Linked DNA regions of Homo sapiens: all the other regions are linked to region 3. The links are contacts of gene promoters, found by promoter capture Hi-C in human tissues and cell types (Jung and others, 2019). All regions are on one chromosome and are shown on one strand. Each heading gives the region's core, a stretch centred on a gene start or on the middle of the fragment in contact. The rest is flanking DNA. Distances are from core to core; before and after follow the strand shown. Region 1 overlaps CENPP (centromere protein P). Region 2 overlaps CENPP (centromere protein P). Region 3 holds the start of NOL8 (nucleolar protein 8).

What was found. Contacts are between HindIII fragments. The study calls those that stand out against the background at their distance.
Region 1: a fragment that was not itself captured here is called in contact with the fragment with the promoter of NOL8 in region 3 in 1 of the 25 tissues and cell types used here (H1 embryonic stem cells).
Region 2: a contact is called between a fragment that was not itself captured here and the fragment with the promoter of NOL8 in region 3, in 1 of the 25 tissues and cell types used here (IMR-90 fibroblasts).

Annotation. Positions count from the first base shown.
Region 1 is chr9:92,543,131-92,546,127 of GRCh38, forward strand. All of the region lies in intron 5 of CENPP (centromere protein P), which reads left to right. It also overlaps a transcript of ECM2 not described here. Among named protein-coding and RNA genes, the nearest start is that of ECM2, 8.6 kb to the left of the region's middle. The HindIII fragment of the contact is 5,415 bases long and covers 1-2,997 here.
Region 2 is chr9:92,522,241-92,524,970 of GRCh38, forward strand. The region is part of intron 5 of CENPP (centromere protein P); the gene reads left to right. It overlaps ECM2 (extracellular matrix protein 2), which reads right to left. Exons shown (of 10, transcript NM_001393.4): 2 at 335-653. The coding sequence starts at 626. Among named protein-coding and RNA genes, the nearest start is that of MIR4670, 4.5 kb to the right of the region's middle. The HindIII fragment of the contact is 7,872 bases long and covers 1-2,730 here.
Region 3 is chr9:92,323,662-92,326,689 of GRCh38, forward strand. NOL8 (nucleolar protein 8) reads right to left here and starts at 1,689. Exons shown (of 17, transcript NM_017948.6): 1 at 1,645-1,689; 2 at 362-548. The coding sequence starts at 500. CENPP (centromere protein P) reads left to right here and starts at 2,292. Exons shown (of 8, transcript NM_001012267.3): 1 at 2,292-2,444. The coding sequence starts at 2,338. RefSeq lists enhancers at 971-1,859, 1,638-1,757, 1,788-1,897. The HindIII fragment of the contact is 17,330 bases long and covers 1-3,028 here.

The sequences.
Region 1 (2,997 bases), core at 456-2,955, 220 kb after region 3:
TTTTGATGTCAGGTGGTATAATGCCTCCAACTTTGTTTTCTTTGATCAAGATGGCATTGGTGCCAGCCTCGTGGCTCACACCTGTAATCCAAGCACTTTGGGAGGCCAAGGCAGGTGGATAACTTGAGGTCAGGAGTTCAAGACCAGCCTGGCCAACATGGTGAAACCCCATCTCTATCAAAAAATACAAAAATTGGCTGGGCATGGTGGTACGTACCTGTAGTCTCAGCTACTCAGGAGGCTGAGGCAGAAGATCACTTGAACCTGGGAGGTGGAGGTTGCAGTGAGCAGAAATCTCACCACTGCTCTCCAGCCTGGGTGACAGAGTGAAACCCTGTCTCAAAAAAAAAAAAAAAAAAAAAAAAAAAAAGATTGCATTAGCTATTCAGGGTCTTTTGTGATTCCTTACGAATTTTATGATCGTTTTTCTGTTTCTGTTAAGAATGACATTGAAAAAAAAAGTTGAAATTTCGATAGGAATTACATAAAATCTGTAGAACACTTTGGGTAGTATAGTCATTCTAACAATATTAATGCTTCTAATCCATGAACAAGAGATATCTTTTCATTTACTTATGTCTTAAGTTTCTTTCATCAGCGATTTATAGGTTTCAGTGTAGAGATCTTTCTCCTCCTTGGTTATGTTTATTCTTAAGTATTTTGTTATTACGTATCTATTGTAAATTTTCTTGATTTCTTTTTCATGTAGTTTAGTTAGTATACAGAAAAGCTACTGATTTTTGTATGTTGATTTTGTATCTTGCAAACTTTATTGAATTCATTTATCAATTCTAGCAGTTTTTTGGTGCAGTCTTTAGAATTTTCTCTATATAAGATGTCATCTGCAAACAGAGAAAATGTACCTTTATCCTTTCCATTTTAGATATTTTTTATTTCTTTCTCTTATCTAATTGCTCTGGCTAGGACTACCAGTTTTATGTTGAATAGAAGTTGCGTGAGTCAGCACTGTTGTCTTATTCCTGATCTTAGAAGAAATGCTTTCAGCTTTTCATCGTTAAGCATGACATATTAACTGTGCACTTGTCATAAATGATCTTTATTGGGCTGGGCGTGGTGGCTCACGCCTATAATCCCAGCACTTTGGGAGGCTGAGGCACGTGGATCACTTGAGGTCAAGAGTTCAAGGCCAGCCTGGCTAACTTGACAAAATCCCGTCTCTACTAAAAATACAAAAATTAGCCGGGTGTGCTGGCACATGCCTGTAAACCCAGCTGTTTGGGAGGCTGAGGCACGAGAATCGCTTGAATCTTGGAGGCAGAGGTTGCAGCGAGCCACGATTGCACCACTGCACTCCAGCCTGGGCAACAGAGCAAGACTCCGTCTCAAAAAAATAAATAAATGGTCTTTATTTATGTTGAGGTACATTCTTTCTATAGTTAATTTGTTGAGGGGTTTTTTTTTTTATCATGAGAGGGTGTTGAATTTTGTCAAATATTCTACATTCCAAAGTTGTTCTTTAAAAAACAAAACTAGTAAAAGCTGTGGCAAGACTGATGCATGAAAAAAGGGAGAAAGCGTGGCTCACCAATGTGAGGACCAGAGAAATTGTTATCACTATAAATTTTTTTTTTTTTTTTTTTTGAGTTGGAGTTTCGCTGTTGTTGCTCAGGCTGATGTGCAGTGGCGCGATCTCAGCTCACTGCAACCTCCGCCTCTCGGGTTCAAGCAATTCTCCTGCCTCAGCCTCCCCAGTAGCTGGGAGTACAGGCGCATGCCACCACACCCAGCTAAATTTTTTTTTGTATTTTTAGTGGAGACGTGGTTTCACCATGTTGGTCAGGCTGGTCTCAAAACTCCTGACCTCAGGTGATCCACCCGCCTCAGCCCGCTCCAGAGTGCTGGGATTACCGGTGTGAGCAACCACGCCCATCTTACAAATTCTTAAAGCATTTAAAAGACAGTAAGAAAATCTTAAGAGGTGACAGCCTGCTGGCAGCCCTCGCAGCCCTCGCTCGCTCTTGGCACCTCCTCAGCCTCAGCGCCCACTCTGGCCGTGCTTGAGGAGTCCTTCAGCCCACGCTGTGCTGTGGGAGCTCCTTCCTGGGATGGCCGAGGCCGGAGCCGGCTCGGACCTGGGATGGCCGAGGCCGGAGCCGCTCAGGTTTAGGGGAGGTGTGGAGAGAGAGGTACGGGCGGGAACCAGGGCTGCGTGTGGCACTTGCAGGCCAGCTAGAGTTCTGGGTGGGCGTGGGCTTGGCGGGCCCCGTACTGGGAGCGGGCAGTGAGGGACTTAGCACCCCGGCCAGCAGCTGCGGAGGGTGCGTCGGGTACCCCAGCAGTGCCGGCCCACCGGCGCTGTGCTTGATTTCTCGTCGGGCCTTAGCTGCCTCCCCGCGGGGCAGGGCTCCGGACCTGCAGCCCGCCAAGACTGAGCCTCCCGCCCCGCCGGGCCCCTTCAAGGCCCGAGCCTCCCCGACGAGCTCTGCCCCCTGCTCCACCGCGTCCAGTCCCACTGACCGCCCAAGGGCTGAGGAGTGCGGGCACAGGGCGCGGGACTGGCAGCCAGCTCCACCTGCAGCCTGGTGCGGGATCCACTGGGTGAATCCAGCTGGGCTCATCCAGCTGGGCTCTTGAGTCTAGTGGGGATTTGGAGAACCTTTATGTCTAGCTAAGGGATTGTAGATATACCAGTCAGCACTCCGTGTCTAGCTCAAGGTTTGTAAATGCACCAATCAGCACACTGTGTCTAGCTCAAGGTTTGGTAAATGCACCAATCAGTGTTCTGTGTCTAGCTGATCTGGTGGGGACTTGGAGAACCTTTATGTCTAGCTAAGGGATTGTGAATGCACCAATCAGCACTCTGTCTAGCTCAGGGTTTGTAAATGCACCAGTCAGCACCTTGTGTCTAGCTCAGGGATTGTGAATGCACCAATCAGCACTCTGTGTCTAGCTCAGGGTTTGCAAATGCACCAATCAGCACCCTGTGTCTAGCTCAGGGTTTGTGAATGCACCAATCAGTGCTCTGTGTCTAGCTAA
Region 2 (2,730 bases), core at 80-2,579, 200 kb after region 3:
CACACCCGGCTAATTTTTTGTATTTTTAGTAGAGACGGGGTTTCAACATGTTGGCCAGGCTGGTCTTAAACTCCTGACCTCGTGATCTGCCCACCTCTGCCTCCCAAAGTGCTGGGATTACAGGTGTGAGCCACCGCGCCTGGCCCTATTTTTTAAATTATTTTAAAATGTATGTTTGTAGATTAAACCAAAAAGTAATATAATAACCTGGATTTTTCTTTAGAAAATTATCTTCATGGAGATGTTCTCCCTCTCTCCCTCTCTCCTTCTCTTTCCCCATACCATCTCTCACCCTCCTCCCTCTTTCTGTCTCTCTCTCATAGTGTTCTCTTACCTGGTAACACATTATAACTTGATTCTACTCCAGGAAAACTTGAAAAGGATTCAAACTTTTCCTCCATGCTATAATCAAAGTTAACAATAGGAAGTCTTGCTACTGGTGTAAAAACTGTTGTTTGCTGAATTCCAAGCTGTCTGTTTGATCTGTGCTTGTGTGAGGTTGAACTTTTCCTCAACCTTCTGTGGTAGATCTTCCTCCTTTGCTTCCTAGGAATTTCTTCATTTTTTCCAAAGTCAGTTTGAAAAATGATAAGCAGAAAAAAACAAAACAAAACTGCAATCTTCATGTTTGATTTTTTTCCACCAGCCAATTTCTAGAATGAAACAATATTTCAAAGTTAGTGGTGACTAAATTTTTACTTCTGAAAATTGGCTTATATATTTGCTTGTATGCCTCAGTAGGCAAGTCTTTGAGAAATTACACTTATGATATATGGACTATATGCTATAGTATTATTGCCAAATCATAATTTGGAATTCTTCTATCAGAATCAAAAAACTTTTTTTTTTTTTTAAATAGAGATGGGGTCTTGCTCCATCGCCCAGGCTGGAGTGCAGTGGTTCAGTCATGACTCACTGCAGCCTTGAACTCCTGGGCTCAAGCAGTCCTCCTGCATTGGCCTCCCAAAGTGCTGGGATTACAGCATGAGTCACCATGCCTGTTCAGAACTTTTTTGTATCTTACCTTTATCTTTAGACCAGGAATTAGAAACCTTTTTCTATAAAGGGCCAGATAGTAAATATTTGAGGCGTCATAGGCTACACCTTCTCTGTCATACCTATTCAGCTCTGTCATTGTAGCATGAAAGCAGCCATAGACAATATGTTGGGGACCAGCCTCAACACCACCCATAGGGTACCCAAAGCCCTGTGGCAACAAAGGAAGAGAAGAGACAGGTTAAGAGTTCATAAAGATGGGAGCCAGGGGGCCAGTTGCACAATGGAGGCTGCAAAAGGCCCAGAGTTCTGGTCTCCACACGATTTATTGAGTACAATCACTTAGATCTAAGAAGCAGATGTTTAGGGCGAAACAGTGAAAGGGAGGCAGCATGTCATAGGCGTAATCTATAGCAGTAGCGGTTTAAATGAATCTCCTTTGTGCTTAAACAGCATATCTTTAACTTATTGGAGAGTAGCTAGTAGGAGCGGGCTTAACTAGGAGCCTGTACGTCTGTCCACATTTCAGTGTTTCAGAGGAGTGTCTTTCTCCTTGAGCACAGTGTTTATAGATAAGAGAGCAGGTTGCACTCAGAGCATGGGAACATAACGGCGATAAGAAGGCTTTCCTCCTCAGAGACCTCTTGTGGCTTTCCACAACTTATTGTCCCATATTTTTATGGCCAGTTTATGCAGGCACTCCATAAGCCTTTTCCCCAACAACAATTTGTAAACAAATGAGCATGGATGTGTTCCAGGGAAACTCATTACCAGTAAAGGTGGTGGATCAGACATGGCCCCCTCTCTGGGCCCTACTGTTCTGCAGGTTTTCAAAGATTACTTGGGAGATTTCTCTCCACCTGTTTGCTAAGACGTTCTGTGACTGATGTAATCCACAACCCATTTTCCCAGCCGTTTTCTGTTTTGTGCTTTTATTCTCTAGCTTTATAATTGTCTGGGGGGAAGGGCGTGATGGTGCCATATAAAAATAACAGTCAATAGCATCAGTTATAAGGAGGTAAGAGTCAGGAAGAGTAACTCTTTAATTAGCTGGTCTCAGGGTTAGTATAGGGCCTTGCACATGGTAAAGCTGAAAAACATTTAAGAAATGAATATTTAGGCACTCTTGGTACAGTAGTAGCATTATGGTCAGACAGACTGGCGCAATCCCTGTGAAGTCTGGTGGCCAGGGACAAGAGAAACCTCCATCAAGGTGTTGCAGCAGCTGTCATCAAAGGATTCACTCAGCCAATCTCTCTTGGCCTAAAGTTAGTCCTACAAAGGAAGGTTGGCAGTTTTGACTGCCTCTCAGAATTCTACAGCTGAGAAACACACACATACTCACATACACACACCTATACCCCTTGCAGCTTTCCTCCTGCTCTTGCCTCAGGTCCACTCACTGTCAGTGTTTCCTGAGATGAAAAGCCTTCCTTACACAGCCAGTATGGAGGAGAAACTAAAACCCCAGGGATCATAAGAACCCAGATCACAACAGATTTGCCGCTGTTATCTTTTTAATGGGAATTTAAGGTATTTGGTGATTCTAGAAGGTTAAAGTAACTAACTTGCTCAGTGATGAAATTTATTTCAATTCTCACAGGCATACCTTGGTCTCCTTTGCCAACCAGAACAAATCTATGATAGGAAGGAATGGTAAAACATTCAAGGTGATGTTACATACAGAGATGAATACCCTAAACTGCAAAGGAGAGGCATTGAAGGATTAAGGGA
Region 3 (3,028 bases), core at 439-2,938:
ATAATTATCAAAATATTCCAAAAAAAAAAAGAAGAAAATGTCCAGTAGTCAGATAAGGAAACATTTTGATTGTATGCTAGTGATAGTCTACTTAACGGGACACTTAATCCATGTTAGAAAATTCTAGTTCTCAAAACTGGAAGTTAATATGTTTCTGAAATCAGATGTTTTAGAATTTGGAATTTTTTCTTATTTCAGAAACAAATTCTGGTCAAGTTCCACATCACACATTATACCTCCACAACATCACTTAAAACTTTTGGTGTTCAGAGCTAACATTTATCTTGGGGTTGTTTTATTTTCTAGCACTTAACCTGAGTTATGTCTGCCTATAACTGCCCAGTGAAGGACCATAAATTACCTTGGTCATCTTTCCGTGTGATGATCTCCACATCCGAAACTTCTCCAAATCTGCTGAACTGATTTTGTAGGTCTGCCTCAGAAATGTCCTGGCTAAGGCCACCCACATAAAGGCGCTTCGTTTCTCTGTTCACTTTCATGAAGGCTGGGCATATACTTGGGTGTGTTTCAGTGGGAAAAGTAATTTTCTGTATACAGAGAAGAGTTCTTTCCCTTAGTTCTTCTAAAATCTAACAAAACAACTACTTCCTCTGAACCTTCTGTATCAAATCCGTCTCCTGGATCTGTATTTCACTTCCTATTGTATTACTTCCAAATTTTAGTCTTCGAGGTTTTGCCCAAGCCCTACATCCACATCTTTCATGAATGCACTTTGGAACAGCAACCCCATACCCATATAGACACAGGTACAGACAGAGTTTTTTTCCTCCAAATGGCCATAATATTACACTCTATCCCTCTTAATTTTATGTATTCATGTTTTTAGATGTTTTTCCTTGACTCACTCATACATTCATTTACTGTCTTTAACAAAGTCTGACAGAAACAGGATGTAACGCACTAAAAGATAAAAAGAGCTAGCCTACCTCTTCCTAATTGTCTCCACCCCCAACCTACCCACCCCAGCCTTCTTCCTCCTAGAAGACCCAAAGAAGTGAATAGAGAGGCTAGGAGCTCCTTATAGTCACAAAAGAATAAAACAAATGGCACAATATTATGTCACAATAAAAGTGCTGCAAAGTGGGGTTCAGACACAAAGATCAAGGGATATAGCGAATACAGACTTGTGTTTTTGCTATGTGCCTGCATTGTACAAAGTAGTTTGCATGTTTCCCATTTTTCAGGAGAGCAGAAGAGGTTAAGTCACTTCCTCAATGCCATACCGAAAATTAGTGAATCCAGGATTATAATGCAGGTCTACCTTCAGAACTTGGAATTCTTAACACTATACTATGAAGGTTGCTGTATCACAGGGGACTCAGGAAAACTTTTCCAGAGGTACTAGGGCCCATCATAGTATCTCTCATTTCGTTTAGCACCCGGCAGGCGCTCAGCTCTCGCCCTTCCCTTCCCCAAGAGCTGACAGACTCTTTCCAGAAGAGACTCCCAACCAGCGTCCACCACATGGCGTGTATTCTGGGCAGAACTTCGGCCTACCTCTTCCCGATAGTCTCCGCCCCCAGCCTACCCACGGCAGCCTTCTTTCTCTGAGAAGACCCAAAGAAGTGAAGAGAGACTAGGAAACGGCCCTGTGACTTCTCATGCCCGAAACCCACTCCTCACCACGTCGTTCACCTAAAGCCAGCGCCGCTGCAGCCCCTAACTTCTGGTCACGTGTCCCAACGGAGCATCCTCTCTTCCTTCCTACTCGATTTCCAACCCAGCCTCCTAAGGTTCCGTTACCACAATTCAGTTCCCAAGAGCTTTTAATTTCCTTTTCCGTCCTCCCACCTTCCCTGACGCCTCCGTCACCTCCCCCTCAACGACTGCAAAAGAGCCTAAACCAAAATCCCCTAGTTTCTATTGAACACTATCGCTGTGTGTACCAATTCCTGGACTAGGTCGGCGTAAGAGAGGAAGTAGGTGAAAAAAATAAAGAGGCGCTCCCCTCCACGTGATCCCAGCCCTGCCTCTTTAGTGAGGCACGCGGCCGGGCGGCTCCAAGGCTGCCGGCTAGGGTGAGCAGCGGAGCGCTTGGGCTTGGAGTAGCAAAGAACGCGCTCTCCAGAGAAAGTATAGCCACTGCTTAGACAGCCAGGGAAACGTGTGCGGGGAAGTGGAGGACTCAGGCTCTCGTGCGAGAGCGGAGTTGGACGTGCAGGGCCGCTGGGGTCACGCGGAGCTCTCCCGCCTCCCCTCCGCGTGAGCTCTGGGATGGTCCGCGCCGGGAGCGCGCGCGAGGCTTGAAGCGCGGGTGAAGCGCGCAGGTCGGAGTGACAGCTGCGCTGCCGGCCCGGCTGCGGTCAGCAACGCGCCATGGACGCAGAGCTGGCAGAGGTGCGCGCCTTGCAAGCTGAGATCGCGGCCCTGCGGCGAGCGTGTGAGGACCCACCGGCGCCCTGGGAAGAGAAGTCCCGAGTCCAGTACGTGACCACCCCAAGTCCCCCAGGGCCCGCTGGCCAGGGTTCCCGGGCCAGGCGGGTGAATCTCCACAGACATCCTCGGTCTCCTACTCCCAGCCCTAGAAAGTGGGCATGAACTGGCATTGATCCTGTCATGACGATGGCCTAGAGTTGGGAGCAGCGCGTACGGCGCCCAGCTGTAAACGCATTGCAGGGTATTAACTCGTTTAATCGCAGTCGTCTGTGTGGATGACTGACAAGGAGGAAGTCTTGACTATATCCCTAGCTAGATAATTCCGCCTCCAGTATGCAGAAGTATCTCTAGTTGGGATTTAATAACTCCGTTTGGTTTCATGGCATTTGTTTTGGTAGGTCAGCTAACCATCTCAACTGATAATGACTTTGTGTTTACGATGACATAAAAATTCCTTTGAAAAATAACTTCGGTAAAAAACTAAGTTGATAAAAGAAAAGTAGTTAATATAGACTGCAGGAGAATTTGACATTCCTCTGAGGTAGGTGCTACTGTTAGCCCTGTTTTATAGTTGAAGAAACTGAGGCTCAGAGAAGTTAGGTAGCTTGTCCAAGGTTCCAGAGAAAGGAAT